Regions from separate parts of the Homo sapiens genome. Here regions 1, 3, 4 and 5 are each linked to region 2. The links are contacts of gene promoters, found by promoter capture Hi-C in blood cells and fetal thymus (Javierre and others, 2016). All regions are on one chromosome and are shown on one strand. The core of a region is centred on a gene start or on the middle of the fragment in contact, and the rest is flanking DNA. Distances in the headings are between cores, read along the strand shown. Region 1 holds the start of DNM3 (dynamin 3). Region 2 holds the start of PRDX6 (peroxiredoxin 6). Region 3 overlaps RABGAP1L (RAB GTPase activating protein 1 like). Region 4 overlaps MRPS14 (mitochondrial ribosomal protein S14). Region 5 holds the start of VAMP4 (vesicle associated membrane protein 4).

Region 1 (2,700 bases), core at 119-2,618, 1.6 Mb before region 2:
TCAAAGACAACCACAGTTCCGATTTCTATTACCATAGAATAGCTTTGCTGGTTGTAGAACTTCACATACATGAAATCAAACCAATATGGTCTTTGGCCTTTTTCATTCTACATAATGTATCTGAGATTGTTGCTATATCAAAAGTCTTTTTTGTGGCAGAGATTATTTCACTATATATATATACCACGTTTGTTTATTCATTCACCTGTTGATAGACATTTGGGTTGTTTTCAGGTTTTTTGACATTATGAACATTTTAATATGTCTTTTTAGAGTTAGAAGGAACTGTACATTAAATGCTGAGATTACAAAAGATGACTTCAGTTTTGAATAAATTGAGTCTGTAGTACTTGTAGGACACTCAGGTAGTATTCTGGGCTCCTCTTGGAGTACAGTCTAAGTTGCAGAAGAGAGACAGGGTCTAGCAATGTAAATTTCTGTAGTCGCCAGCCTTGATTCAGAGTTAAAGCTATGGGAAAGTCCTCAGGCAGAGGACAAACATTAGACAAGAAAATGCCCATATATGAAACCCTGCGAAGCATCAGTATTTGAGGAGCAGACTAAAAAGGAACCGTCTGTGGAGGCTAAGAGAAGCATGGCCATTTATCTTTGTGTCCCGATCATCAGGCACAGGACCCCACACACAGTCACTTCTCAATGTGCTAAATTTCACAGAATGCGTCCAGGGTACCTGGTTCTGGATAGATCCGGTAGAAGGAGATAGACCGGGAGGGCAAATGGCATGAGGAGTCTCACAGGCCAGAGTGATTAAAGGGGTGTATCGGGGCGGTAAACCCTACAGACTCTACCTGTGCTTATGCGGGGCTGGGGAGGACGAGTCATTACAGATGAAGAATTAAGTAAGGTCAGACCACTCAGGGCCTTAGATGGATGTCACATTGAAGAATTTAGACTCCAACAGGCCTGCCACCCTGGGAGGAGTCATCGCGGATTCTGGAGAAGGGCGTGACAGAGGAGATTTCCTTTCGGGAAGTGTAGTCTGGCAGCGGTGCCCCGGTGGTGGCGGCGGCGGTGCTGCTGTTGCTGGTGATCGTGTGGTGGTGTTAGCGGCGATAGTGCTTTCCACTGGGCTTTGGCTTGGTAGCCGCTGAAAGAGAACAACGCTGCCGCTGCTGCTGATTTCATGCCATTTCCTGACCCGGCGCTGTAACTTGGCCTCTGAGCCTTGGCCACAGAACGCAGAGGCCGTGGCATCTGGCCGCAGCTGGGCTGCAGTGCGTGCGCGCCTGGCCTGGTGGTCCGATGGGAAGCCCGGGGCGGGGCAGCCGCGGGGCGGGGGCGGGGCGTCGCGGAGATAGGCCACGCCCCTGCCCGCCCGCGCAGGCGCGCTGCGGGTCGTTAGCTGTCAGAGCCAAGCGGCGGGCTGGCGGCGGGCTCCGACGTCTGCGCCAGGACCTGGCTGGCTGAGCCCGGCGCAGCAGCAGCAGCCAGGGCAGCGCGGCCCCTACTCCCTGTCAGGTCGTAGAGGCGAGCAGGGACCAGCTGGTCGCCGGCCCCTCGGGCAAGATGGGGAACCGGGAGATGGAGGAGCTGATCCCGCTGGTGAACCGTCTGCAGGACGCGTTTTCGGCGCTGGGACAGAGCTGCCTGCTGGAGCTGCCGCAGATCGCCGTGGTGGGCGGCCAGAGCGCCGGCAAGAGCTCGGTGCTCGAGAACTTCGTGGGCAGGTAAGCGCGCAGGGCGCGGAGTAAGGATGCGGCAGTGGGGCGACCCCGCTGCGGGCCGTTGGAACGTGGACGGGCAGCGGGAGCCAGAGGGTGGATGGACCAGGCGCTGCGGTGGAATGGGGGGCAGAGTGGAATGGGGGGCAGAGTGGCGGTGTCCGTGGGGCGGGCGGGGTCCTCCAGCTCTGGGCATCCTCCGTCCCCTGCCACCCCCCGCCTGGTGGCCCTCCTGCCTGCCTTTCATCGTGCGATACAAAGCCATTTCCTCCCTGTCCTCCAGTCGGGGAGTCGGGGGAGGGGTCCGCCCCGGGCTCGACCCCCACCCCCTCGGTGCGCGCCAGCCCCGGGCAGCCTCCCTGCGTAGCGCGCCGAAAGCTTCCCAGTGCCCCTCTCCTGTTTTCCCAGCTCAACACCCCCCTCCTTTTCCTGTCGCCCTCCGTGAGGCTCCCTGTGAGGCTGTGGGGCTTTATCCCCCGAGCCCCCTCCCTTAGGTGGAGATGCTTTCCTTCTCGCCAGGGTTCTCGTTCCTCTCAGCTGTCTACTGTTGCCTGCCTCTAGCTGGGGAGGCGGGGTGCGAGGAGAAAGACGTCGTTTGTTGTGGTGAAGCTTTATCCAGAGACGCTTCCCCACCATTCTCCTCCCGGAGAGTCGAAGAATAAAAGGTGGTGTGTTTGCGTGTGCACCTATTCACAGCTTCAGGCAATTGTGAGAGAGCCCGAGGCACAGACTTGGCAGGGGGTGGACGTGGACTTATGTTGTCCAGGTGCCATGTCATTCCTGCATCATCTCGGAACTGACCAGCATCTTTCTCGCACTCTCTCTGCGCCCCCTCCCCCAGCATCATCTTCCGTTCTCTAAGCTCCTATTTGTCTTGCTAGCCTTCAAGACAACATTCTGAATCTAAATTGTAGCTGTGGTTTTCCTCATGACTCTTAATACAGAAACAGCTAAGGAATTAATTTTCGAATTAGGAATCAGCATTTCTTCCACTGAGCAATTCATGAGGGATTAAGTT
Region 2 (2,724 bases), core at 53-2,552:
ACCCTACATTTTATTATAATTGCATATAAATATGCCTTCCCTGTAACAGCAGGGACTGTGTTTCTCCACTGTATGGCCTGGCACAGTGTCCAGCACACAGCAGGCAAAGCAAGAGTTACTGCATGAGCCAGTGTCATCATCCAAACGATAGCTACCATTTCCAGAGCACCTACCGTGAGCTGACTAGTTTACCTACATTATCCTGGTGGCTTTCCCAGACCAGACCACCCAAACCAAAGCAGCCCCCCAGTCACCCTCTAGGCACATAACCCTATTTTAGTTCTCTGAATACGACTGATTGCTGTCTAACATATTTTGGTTTGTGTGCTTATTGTCTGTCACCGGTTTCCCTTCACAAGAAGGAAAGCTCCAAGAGGACAGGCATCTTATCTACCTTGTACTTGGCTCATAGCAAATAAATGAATCTAAGCCGCCCACCTCCCTGGGTGACAGAGTTGACCTGCACACAGTAGGTCTCAAAGAGTATGTTTTAAATTTTATATTTAGATTTCAAGATAATTGTGTTGAATATTTTATGGTTCATAACAAACAGAAAGGGGAGGGCAGAATAAAAATAAATAAAAGTTTAGTTACATTACCCTAGCACTGACATTGGTACGGGAATTTTTGCTGCAATAAGAAAGCCACTTCCTCTGACATAAGGTCACCCATACTTCTGGGTCTTGCCACATCCTCTTAGACAGTTCATCGTAGCTGGGCTGGCTGGGGCGGTCAGGACTCCAGACGCTCACACTAAAAGAGGGGTGGTAGTCGAGCAGTCACTCCACTCCTCTGTAGGGAGCTGGCCGCGAGTGGGTGCGCAGCAGGGTGCGCGCGGACCCGTGCAGCGCCCAGGGCGGCTGTGCGAAGCCGCCGCAGCCTGCGCGCCCAGGCGATTCTCCACCTTGGGGCTCGCCTTCCTGCCGCGTTCCTCTTCCTTCCATCCCTAAAGCGCGTACGCCCTGCAGAGTCAAACCTGGCGCATCCTCAAGCTTCCAGGGGGCAACGTGACCGAGCCCCGCATCACGTGTGCAGAGACGGCCTATAGTGTCTGAAGGATGCCACCTAGTCGCAGGCCCGGCGGCGCCACCAACAGCGACCGCGGTAGTCCAGCTCGCGCCGCGTCCCGGCCCCAGCCCGGCCCGGCCCAGCCCCGCCCCGCGCCCAGCCCCGCCCCGCCCCGCGCCCAGCCCAGCCCCCGCGGCCCGGCCCCCAGCGGCCGGCCTCCCGCGGCCCCGCCCCCGCCGCCCCAGTCCCCGCCCCTCGCGCCTTCGTTTATTCCTCCGCGCGCTGGGACAGGCTGCTTCTTCGCCAGAACCAACCGGTTGCTTGCTGTCCCAGCGGCGCCCCCTCATCACCGTCGCCATGCCCGGAGGTCTGCTTCTCGGGGACGTGGCTCCCAACTTTGAGGCCAATACCACCGTCGGCCGCATCCGTTTCCACGACTTTCTGGGAGACTCGTAAGTGGCCACCGCGTAGCCCTGTCCTGGCCTCGGTTGCGCCGGACTCGGAGGTGCCTTCCCTGTTTCTTCTCCCTGCCGTCCTCCCGGCCGCTCAGCCCCCTGCGCCGCCCTCGCCTTCCCCCGCACTGGTTCCGGCGCGCGCCAGGCCGTGTGGCCTCTGCTCAGCGTCGGCTGCGCTGCTGGGAGCTGGCACCCGTTCGGCCTGCCCTGCGCGGGCCACTCGATCCCTCCTGGCCTCCCCGCCTCCGGCGTGGCTGGGCAAGGCCACGCCAAGGTGGGGGGTGGGGAGGATAAAATTGTGTTCTGCGGGTTCTGGAAACTCACCGCCCGCGGGAGGGTTTGTTGTCCATTTAACTCGTCTTAGTAAACTGTGCAGGTAGCGTGGTCAGGCCGAGGGCGCAGGGGCGGGGCGGCATTGACGATCACTTCCCCGGACTAGTGCCCAGGGTCGCACCGCCCTCCCACCCTCCGTTCTGGAATTTGCTCCCTGGGGAGGATGGGTGTCTAAAGCCAAAGTCGGAGGACACAGCTGCTGGCTATAGGTTACAGGAAGGCCAACGTATCATCTGAGGGTGCAGTGGTATTTGCAGGCTTCTGGGCACAAAATGTGAAATTTAAAACCACTAGCTGCCAAGTAGGTGGCCGAAAGACTTTTTGTCCAGAGCCGCCTCCAATGGCCAAGATATGATTTGATAACAGCTTTAGGAAGAGCCAAGAACACTCTGCGTAGGTGTGCCTTCAGAGATTCCAGAACTTGCAACACTTGGAGGGAAGGACTTTCTGACGCTGTTCCGCTGGAGTGGCCTATTCTTGCTAGTGATGGCCGTTCCAGGCTCCAGGACACGTGTACTCCCCAACTTTGAGACTCTCTTGTTTTCCAGTGGCTTGCCCCTCACTGTCCCCTCCGCTTTCTACCTTGCTTCTAGCACATGAGCTTGCTGATGATAGCCAAATTGATGACCTGTGATCTGACTTGGCAGTTTTACCATTATGGATAGGAGTAGTAAATCGGTGTTGCCCTTTTTTTTTTTTAACAGCTCCTGAATCAGCAAACTGGAAGTTGCTTAGTTTTCATCAGAAGCATTCCAGGCATGTCTAGTTATATTATGGTTCTGGAGTACTAGTGGTCCCACTACACTGTGGGGCTCCAAGGCTTGACAACAGTTCTTCCCCAGATTATATCCTTTTTATATACAGTATCCAGGGAGACAGGCTTATGAAATTAATCAGTGATTGGACAGGGCTGTGCAGAGAACCAGGG
Region 3 (2,819 bases), core at 34-2,533, 1.3 Mb after region 2:
TTCTTTGATATATTGACTTCTTTTTCTTTGAGTCGATTCCCAGTAGTGGCATTGCTGGATCAAATGGTAATTATATTTTTATTTTTTTGAGAAATCTCCATACTGTTTTCCATAGTGGCTGTACTAGTTTACATTCCCACCAACAGTGTATATGAGTTCCCTTTTCTCCACTTTCTTGTCAACATCTGTCTTTTTTAATAATAGGGATTCTGGCTGAGGTATGCTATCTCATTGTGGTTTTGATTTGCATTTCTCTGATGATTCATGAGGTTGAACATTTTTTCATATACCTGTTGGCTGTTTGTATTTATTTTTTTGAGAAATGGCTATTCATATACTTTGCCCAAGTATGAATGGGATTATTTGTTTTTTTCCTGTTGAGTTGAGTTCCTTATCTGTTCTATATATTAGTTCCTGTTGGATAAATAATTTGCAAATATTTTATCCCATTCTGCAGGTTGTCTCTTCACTCTGTTGATTTTTTTGTTTTGTTTTTTTTTTTTTGTGTGTGGGAGCTTTTTAGTTTAATTAATTCCCAATCACTTATTTTTGGTTTTGTTGCCTGATCTTTTGAGGCCTTTGTAACAAATTCTTTGCCTAAACCAACAACCAGGAGAGGGTTCCCTAGATTTTTTCTTCTAATATTTCTATAGTATCAGGTTTTACTTTTAAGTCTTTAATCTACTTTGAGTTCATTTTTGTATATGGTGAGATAATGGTCCAGTTACATTCTTCTGCATGGCTATACAATTTTCCCAGCACCGTTTATTGAAGAGATTGTCCTTTCCCCAGTGTAAGTTTTTGTTGTTTGTTTTTGTGTTTTTTTGAGACAGAGTCTTGCCTTGTCACCCAGGCTGGAGTGCAGTGGCATGATCACTGCTCACTGTGGCCTCAACCTCATGGGCCCAGATGATCCCCCTGCCTCACCCTCCCAAGTAGCTCAGACTACAGGCATTTGCTGCCACACCTGACTGGTGTTTTATTTTTTGTAGAGATGGGGTCTCACTCTGTTGCCTAGGCTGGTTTTGAACTCCTGGGTTCAAGCAATCCTCCTGCCTCAGCCTTCCAAAGTGTTGGGATTACAGGTGTGAGCCACTGTACCCGGCCCCCAGTATAAATTCTTGTTGGCTTTGTTGAAGATCAGTTGGCTGTAACTATGTGTCTTTATTTCTGAGTTCTCTGTTTTGTTCTACTGGTCTATGTGGCTACTTTTATACCATGTTGTGGCATTTTTAAGGATTTTTTTTTTAAGTGGGGAGTTTGAGACCAGCCTGGGCAACATGGCAAAAGCCTATTTCTACAAAAAAAAAAAAAAAAAAAAAAAAAGTAGAAAAATTAGCCAGGCATGGTGGCATGCGCCTATAGACCCAGCTACTTGGGAGGCTGAGGTGGGAGGATTGCTTGAGCCTGGAAGGTTGAGGCTGTGGTGAGCCATGATAGCACTACTATGCTCCAGCCTGGGTGACAGAGCAAGACCCTGTCTCAAAAAAAAAAGAAGAAGAAGAAGAGGAAGAGGAGGGGGAGGGGGGAGGAGGAGGAAAGAAGAAGAAGAGGAGGAGGGGGAGGGGGAGGAGGAAGAAAGAAGAAGAGGAAGAGGAGAGGGAGGGGGAGGAGGAGGAAAGAAGAAGAAGAGGAGGAGGGGGAGGGGGAGGAGGAGGAAAGAAGAAGAAGAAAGAAAAGGGGGCCAGATGCGGTGGCTCAGCTTGTAATCCCAGCACTTTAGGAGGCCAAGGCAGGTGGATCACTTGAGGTCAGGAGTTCGAGACCAGCCTAACTAATGTGGTGAAACCCATCTCTACTAAAAATACAAAAATTAGTTGAGTGTAGTGGCGCACACCTGTAATCCCAGCTACTCGGGAGGCTGAGGCAGGAGATTTGCTTAAGCCCAGGAGGCGGAGGTTGCAGTGAGCTGAGATCGCGCCACTGCACTCCAGCCTAAGCGACAGAGCAAGACTTCATTTCAAAGAAAAAGGAAGAAAGAAAAGTGGTATGAGCACAAGAACTCTAACAAAAGATTTCTGGATGGATTGGGTTAATGGAAAACTGGCAGAAGCCTGGAGGAAGGAGAAGGTCAAGATCAGCTAATAGTAGCTGATAAGAAGTCCTGTATCATTATGAAGAGTATCAAAAGCACCCCTGCAGCCTGGGATGGTTGACTGATAACTATAACTGTAAAACAATATAATCCGATGTGTATCATGACTTAAGAGAATTTGAGAAGAACAGAAAGGTGAATGCCAGTATTCAATGGCCAATGGAACATGTGTTTAGGGACTTTATAGCAATACTTCAGTGCTCTAATGTTCAGGTCATACCTCCCTATCATTCCCTAGGTGGTGTGTTATCTGTTTATATTTTTATCTGCTATCCTAATCTGGGAGTCCTCTGAGTGTAGGGATGACTTATCCATCTTTGTAAATGTCCTCAAAATGCTTGACATATGATGAATATGTTACCACAACACCAGGGGTTCAGTCTAGGTCCTGCTGCTCACAGCACAGAAAGCCAATGACTAAGATGATGATTATTGCCAAGGAAGAAGGCTTTAATTGGGGGCTGCAGCAGACGAGATGAGATGGGAGCTCAGTCTCAAATCCATCTCCCTGACAAACTGAAACTAGGGACTTATATAGCAGGGAAGAGATATAGCAATATGTAAGAAACAGGAACTAGAGAGGGGTAAGGAAGCAATTATGGTGAATGAGGGGCCCTCATCTCATTATCTGGATATGGTGATCTGGTGAGTTCCAGTTCTTCCATACTTTTTTTTGAGAGACCTGAAGGTCCTTTGTTGAGTAAGGAATCCGATAAAACAAATG
Region 4 (2,700 bases), core at 37-2,536, 1.5 Mb after region 2:
TACTGAATGAGAACTTTGTGCTACCCTTACTCATTTCTGTTATGGATTAAATAAACATAAAAATAGGGAATATATACTGTTCCAACAAACTTTTCCTCTTTAGATGGAGACTTTCAAGGACTTAAAGAGGCATAATTTGTTTTAAAGTCCCTTAAGGATGGACAAGAAAACACTTAGTGGTTCTTTTGTTCAGCCATCACAAGAAGAAGTGGAGCATTAGATAATCCAGAACAGCAGCCTTGCTATCCAATCTGTTTATCTAACAATAATAGTTAAGGGGAGCTCTGCAGGTCAGCAAAGCTAGTCCAGGATTACAAACTGCCATACATGAGCTACATGTCAATTAGTTGGATTATGTATAAGATAGCATTTTATGAAATAATGCTCTTAATACAAAAACCCCTATATGTTACTAAAAGATTAAACTTAAAAGGAGGGTATAAAAAACATTCACAGAAAATATTTATTATGCTACTCTTTGTACTATGTATGGGAACAGTATGTTTGTTAAGTCCAAGAGAAAAGATAATTCACTGACATGAAACACCCAAATGTCTTCATTTTAAAAGTAGTTTAGAGATAGCATCAGGTAGGCCAAACAACTGTACTGGGCCCCTGTAGAGATTAGGGTTTGGTCTATTAAAAAAAATCTTTGCTTGCTGGAACTGCAAGCTTGGCTTCCCTGCAAGCTCAATAGGTTCTGGAGCTCATTTACCATGTCGCTCGCTGGATCCCAGAAAGTTGCCCATGGTCAGCTAAGTGACGGAAGACTATACGACTAAGCCTCCAGCGCCGCTTCACACCACGCGGACGGGACGTCATAACACACCGATTTCTGATTCTAACAGGACAGCTATCCCGGGGGAGGGCAGCAATTTCTTCATCAGCCACATCCTAAGGGAAATCACATTATTACACAGATCACATTACATTGTTGCACATGTATTTTGCTCCTTCTCACTTGCAGGTAATTTTCTTTTCTTTTTTTTTTTTTTTTGAGACAGAGTCTCGCTCTGTCACCCAGGCTGTGGGTGTTAGATTGTGCAATGTCACAATCTCAGCTCACTGCAACCTCCGCCTCCTGGGTTCAAGTGATTCTCCTGCCTCAGCCTCCCGAGTAGCTGAGATTACAGGTGTGCACTACCACACTCAGCTAATTTTTTGTATTATTAGTAGAAACGGGGTTTCACCACGTTGCCCAGGCTGGTCTCAAACTCCTGAGCTCTGGCAATCCGCCCATCTCTGCCTCCCAAAGTGCTAGGATTACAGGTGTGAGCCACAGCGCCTGGCCACTGGCAGGTAATGTTCATTGCATGAGTACCATAATTCATTTATCCATCCTACATTTGATGGTCATCTTACGATTTGGGCGAATATAAATAGTGCAGCTACATACTCTTGTTTAACTCATTTGTAAAGTATGTGAATGTATTTCTGTTGCCGCCTCATGTTTTTTGAATCACGAAAGTGAAACCTCTGGAATGATGATCAAATAGGAGGGAATGTGGCTTGAGATAAGACTAGAGAAGGAGGAAGGAGAGTATCACATGGAGCCCTGATGTCTATGGTAAAGATTCTGACAGCTAGAGAAGTAAAGGGGAGAGATCAGATGAGGTTTATATTTAAAAAAAATCATTTGCAAGGTAGAGGATGAATCAGGTAAGGGCAAAGTGGTTGAGGGGAGAAAAGTAGGGATTACAGCAGTAGCTAGGGCTCAGGTTTTGTCAGTAGAGATTTCTTCTTATGTATGTGTTCAAGAGTGTGAGTGTTCATAATATTCACTTTAATCTGATAAGTGTGCTAACAAGTAGATGGACCCTGTGCTAGACTGCGGTGCAAGCAAAATAACACATTAAAATAACACAAATTAAATGAAAGTATATAAAAGCCAAAAATTAACAAAAGCTTATGCATGTGTTACCATTATGAACTAACAGAATTACATAAAACAACATGATTGCCAGGCACAGTGGCTCACGCCTATAATCCCAGCACTTTGGGACGCCGAGGCAGGCGGATCATCTGAGGTCAAGAGTTCGCGACCAGCCTGACCAACATAGGGAAACCCCATCTCTACTAAAAATACAAAATTAGCTGGGTGTGGTGGCACATGCCTGTAATCCCATCTGGCCGGGAGGCTAAGGCAGCAGAATCGCTTGAACCCAGGAGGCAGATGTGGTGAGCCCAGATTGTGCCACTGCACTCCAGCCTGGGCAACAAGAGCAAAACCCCATCTCAAAAAAAAAAAAACAAAAAAAAACCATGATTGAGCCATTGAGTAGTAAACAATAAATGCTATACAAGGAACTGGAGAGGAGAAATGACTGGGCAAGAAGATTGAAGCCAAGTTTCATGGAGGTGGACCTTAAAGAATGGCTAGAAATTATGGATTGATTGATTGATACATACCCCTTCCTTCTTGTTCCCCGAAAGATTTAAGGCAGTTTACAAATGAGGAAACTGGGGCAAAGAGAAATGAGAGTAGGAAAGATAAAAGCCTCAGGACACAAAAGTGCATGCTGTGAAATTAGAACTGGGACATAAATTTGACTTGTAAGCTACTTGGCAGGCAGCAGAGAACCATGATCAGTTTACATGATTCACAGACTCTGCACAGTTATTGCTGCTAGTCATACCAGAGACATGTCTTCTGGGTATCTTCATAAAGGTACTCAAACAACACACCCCCAGCTGTATTAA
Region 5 (2,811 bases), core at 51-2,550, 1.7 Mb before region 2:
CAACGGGCAGACTTATATAATGCCTTTATAAGACATACAGTAAAACTACAATCTTAAGGATGAGCAAACACCATATTCAGGTCTCTTAATCCCAAGAAACCATGTGCAACAAATAGCCCATCAGCAAAGCAGTAGGCAGATTAATTAGCTACCTTGATGAACTTTGATGTTATTTGCAACTGATTATTAGTAACTGATATGTGTATCAAACAACTAGTAGAAATAAATCATGCTCAGAAAGTAGACTAGGATATAGTCTGCCTAAGATTTCTCCTACAAAAAAAGACATGTGAATTCAGCTGTTTGTGACTAGGTATACATGTAAATAAGAGAGCCATCATGTACTTCCACATTGAGGATAGACCACCACTATACAATTCACTCAAATGAGTCACATCACCGTATGCTTCTTATACATCAGCATATACTTAAATGTCTATGTGTGCGTTTTTGTAAGTAGTACGTTATCTAGTCAATAGCTTTGAATCTGGGCAAAGGCTCTCCTTTTCCCAGCCTCCATTCTCTTTCTGATTCGTCTTCCTTGTCTGTCATCAGCCTTCTTGCTTGATGCAGTTTCACAGAAATAAAGTGACTTGGATGGACACAGACCGGAGATATTATTTGCAAAACCTGTCAAGTGTAACGATTCACCCCCACCTTCCGGTCATTATAAACACAGCAGGGTTGGCGCTCTTTCCCCCGGGCCCTTTAAATACACAATTTCAGGCAGCTCCGTTCACCCCCCACACCCAATCTGTCACACCAGGCCACGTCCCACGATATATCTGCTCCTAACGCTGGCCCTTCCTGCCCCATTGTACCCCCTGGAATTCCTCACTACATCCCACTCTTAACAAACCTTCCCCATCCATGGTACTGTTCTCTTCCCATCACCCCAGAGTACCCCTCAATTCCAATTCTTCTCTCCCTCAACTGCTCCTCGTCCGCATACCCCTGTCCTCGTCTTCCTTCCTCACGGCACCCCCGGCCCCAACCTTTTCCCACTCCGGGGTCCCTTCCTAGATCCCCGAGGCCCGCCGACCAGCCCGACTAGGACGTCGGGGGGCGGCAAGGCAGGGGCGTCTTCTTCGTTTCCTTCCTCCTCACACCAGCCCCTCCCGCTGCGAACAGGCCAGCGCCAGTACCTGAGGCTCCCGGGGAACTCCCGGCAGCTCTCCCGGGCTGGCGGTGCTGGGCGGGCGGGGGAAGGAGTAGGAAGCCGAGGTAAGAAGCTGGGAGGGGGAGACAGTTGGTGCGGACCCGGCGTCGGCCGCAGCGCCGCAGCAGCGCCTCCGCTCATCGAGCCGATCGGCGCTCGGCGGCCTGGCGCCAGGCGGAGGGGGCGGGTCCAGGGCACGGAGATAATCGAGGAAGTCGATCCGCCGAGCCCTATTCACCTAAAAGAGCCCGAACCCACACGCAGTTTAGATGCATCTCTCCAAATTTATGCTGTGCTTTAGGGGAGGAACAACCACTGGTTGTCCACGTTCCGGTCGTGATCCGGCGTGCGTGGAGGGCGATTAGGGGAGGAGTGGGAAACTTCCGAGAACCGCTCGGGACTGGGCGCCGCGCCGGAGTGCGTGGCTGGGGTGATGAGGCGTTAGAAAGAAGGTGGTGCTTGGTGGCACATCCGTCCCTCTGGCTGACTACGTTGAGTGGCAAGTGGAGAGTGGCTCGCAGCTCGAGGACCTGCTTCGGGTTCGTCTGGGGCCTTTTCTGAAGAAAGGAGATCTGTTTGATCCCCTGTTTACAGAATTAGAGCTAGACTTGGAAAGAGATGTTAAGGCCAGGCTCCTCCCTTTAGATAGGAGGAATATCTGGTTCAGAGAGGAGATTGACTTAAAGTTAACACGGCTAGTTTAGATAGATACGGGACGAGGGCTCGGTGTTCTTTTCCCGGTATCCCTTAGTTGTAACCTGAAAGCCTTCAGGAAATCGCCCTCGCCAGGCCATTCCGCCACTCTGCCCATTCCTTCCTCACTCCCTCCCCCTCCGCCCAATTTGGTATCATGTTTAGATCTCCACGCCCGCAGTAGCTGTCTACCAGAAACAATTCCTAATTTTGTTTTTCCGTTCTCTTATTTGTTTTATTATCCGTTCCTCCCACGCCCCAGCTGGATTATTTTACTCATTGAATCATATTCACTACACATCTTTTAAAATTAATACAGTATCTATGGGTCCTTTGTTGATACAGTATTTTAACTGTCTGAAATACTGTGCCAGGCACTTTCTAAAGACATAAAAATAAGAGGGGGTGTTCAAGAACAAGAGTAGACAAGAAAACAGCAGGAGGAAAGATCTGCGGACACTAAAGGAAAGGAAAGAATAGACACCCTCTTACCAAAAAGTTGTTCTTCTTTTGTTTGATGTTTATTTTTATGTAAAAATGTACTAACGAATTTGAAAGATGCCATGACTAAGGCAACGATGCTCCACTCTGATTCACTTGGAGTTGAATCACTTGGAAAGCTTTTAAAACTACGTAGGTGCCCACGTGCTACCTAGATTCTGATTTAAATGTTCTGAGATTTAGAAACAGCCGTTGAGTTGTCAGTTGAAGGTTCTGAAAGCTTAATGCTAAACTCAGTTGCCTGTGTTTATTCAGTCCAAGTTGCTGTCCAAGTCAGCAACTTGGACTGAAACGGCCCACTTAGAAGAGAAGCCTCTCATGGTTTGTATCCCTGTCTAGGTGTGATAGTGGGTCTACCCCCAGACTCCACAGGTAACCCTGACATTATTTTTTCTTCTACAGCTGATCTTTTTTTTTTTTTTGAGATGAAGTCTCACTTCTTCCCCCAGGCTGGAGTG

What was found. The method cuts DNA at HindIII sites, captures the fragments that hold promoters and counts their contacts. A CHiCAGO score of 5 or more calls a contact.
Region 1: a contact is called between the fragment with the promoter of DNM3 here and the fragment with the promoter of PRDX6 in region 2, in 1 of 17 cell types (activated CD4 T cells). The highest score is 6.3, in activated CD4 T cells.
Region 3: a fragment that was not itself captured here is called in contact with the fragment with the promoter of PRDX6 in region 2 in 1 of 17 cell types (neutrophils); the score reaches 7.8 in neutrophils.
Region 4: a fragment that was not itself captured here is called in contact with the fragment with the promoter of PRDX6 in region 2 in 1 of 17 cell types (neutrophils); the score reaches 10.3 in neutrophils.
Region 5: the fragment with the promoter of VAMP4 here is called in contact with the fragment with the promoter of PRDX6 in region 2 in 3 of 17 cell types (activated CD4 T cells, non-activated CD4 T cells and fetal thymus); the score reaches 8.4 in activated CD4 T cells.

The regions. Positions count from the first base shown.
Region 1 is chr1:171,840,130-171,842,829 of GRCh38, forward strand. DNM3 (dynamin 3) reads left to right here and starts at 1,369. Exons shown (of 21, transcript NM_015569.5): 1 at 1,369-1,688. The coding sequence starts at 1,528. RefSeq lists a silencer at 1,184-1,413 and an enhancer at 1,614-1,793. The HindIII fragment of the contact is 4,190 bases long and covers 1-2,058 here.
Region 2 is chr1:173,476,033-173,478,756 of GRCh38, forward strand. It overlaps PRDX6 (peroxiredoxin 6), which reads left to right and starts at 1,303. Exons shown (of 5, transcript NM_004905.3): 1 at 1,303-1,460. The coding sequence starts at 1,366. It overlaps LOC100506023 (a long non-coding RNA gene), which reads right to left and starts at 1,123. Exons shown (of 3, transcript NR_037845.1): 1 at 600-1,123. RefSeq lists enhancers at 308-844, 1,342-1,501 and a silencer at 1,102-1,271. The HindIII fragment of the contact is 1,817 bases long and covers 991-2,724 here.
Region 3 is chr1:174,740,555-174,743,373 of GRCh38, forward strand. All of the region lies in intron 17 of RABGAP1L (RAB GTPase activating protein 1 like), which reads left to right. Among named protein-coding and RNA genes, the nearest start is that of RABGAP1L-AS1, 210 kb to the right of the region's middle. The HindIII fragment of the contact is 3,092 bases long and covers 1-2,819 here.
Region 4 is chr1:175,013,958-175,016,657 of GRCh38, forward strand. MRPS14 (mitochondrial ribosomal protein S14) reads right to left here. Exons shown (of 3, transcript NM_022100.3): 3 at 1-894. The coding sequence ends at 712. Among named protein-coding and RNA genes, the nearest start is that of MRPS14, 8.1 kb to the right of the region's middle. The HindIII fragment of the contact is 1,233 bases long and covers 671-1,903 here.
Region 5 is chr1:171,740,765-171,743,575 of GRCh38, forward strand. VAMP4 (vesicle associated membrane protein 4) reads right to left here and starts at 1,301. Exons shown (of 8, transcript NM_003762.5): 1 at 1,146-1,301. The HindIII fragment of the contact is 4,907 bases long and covers 1-2,470 here.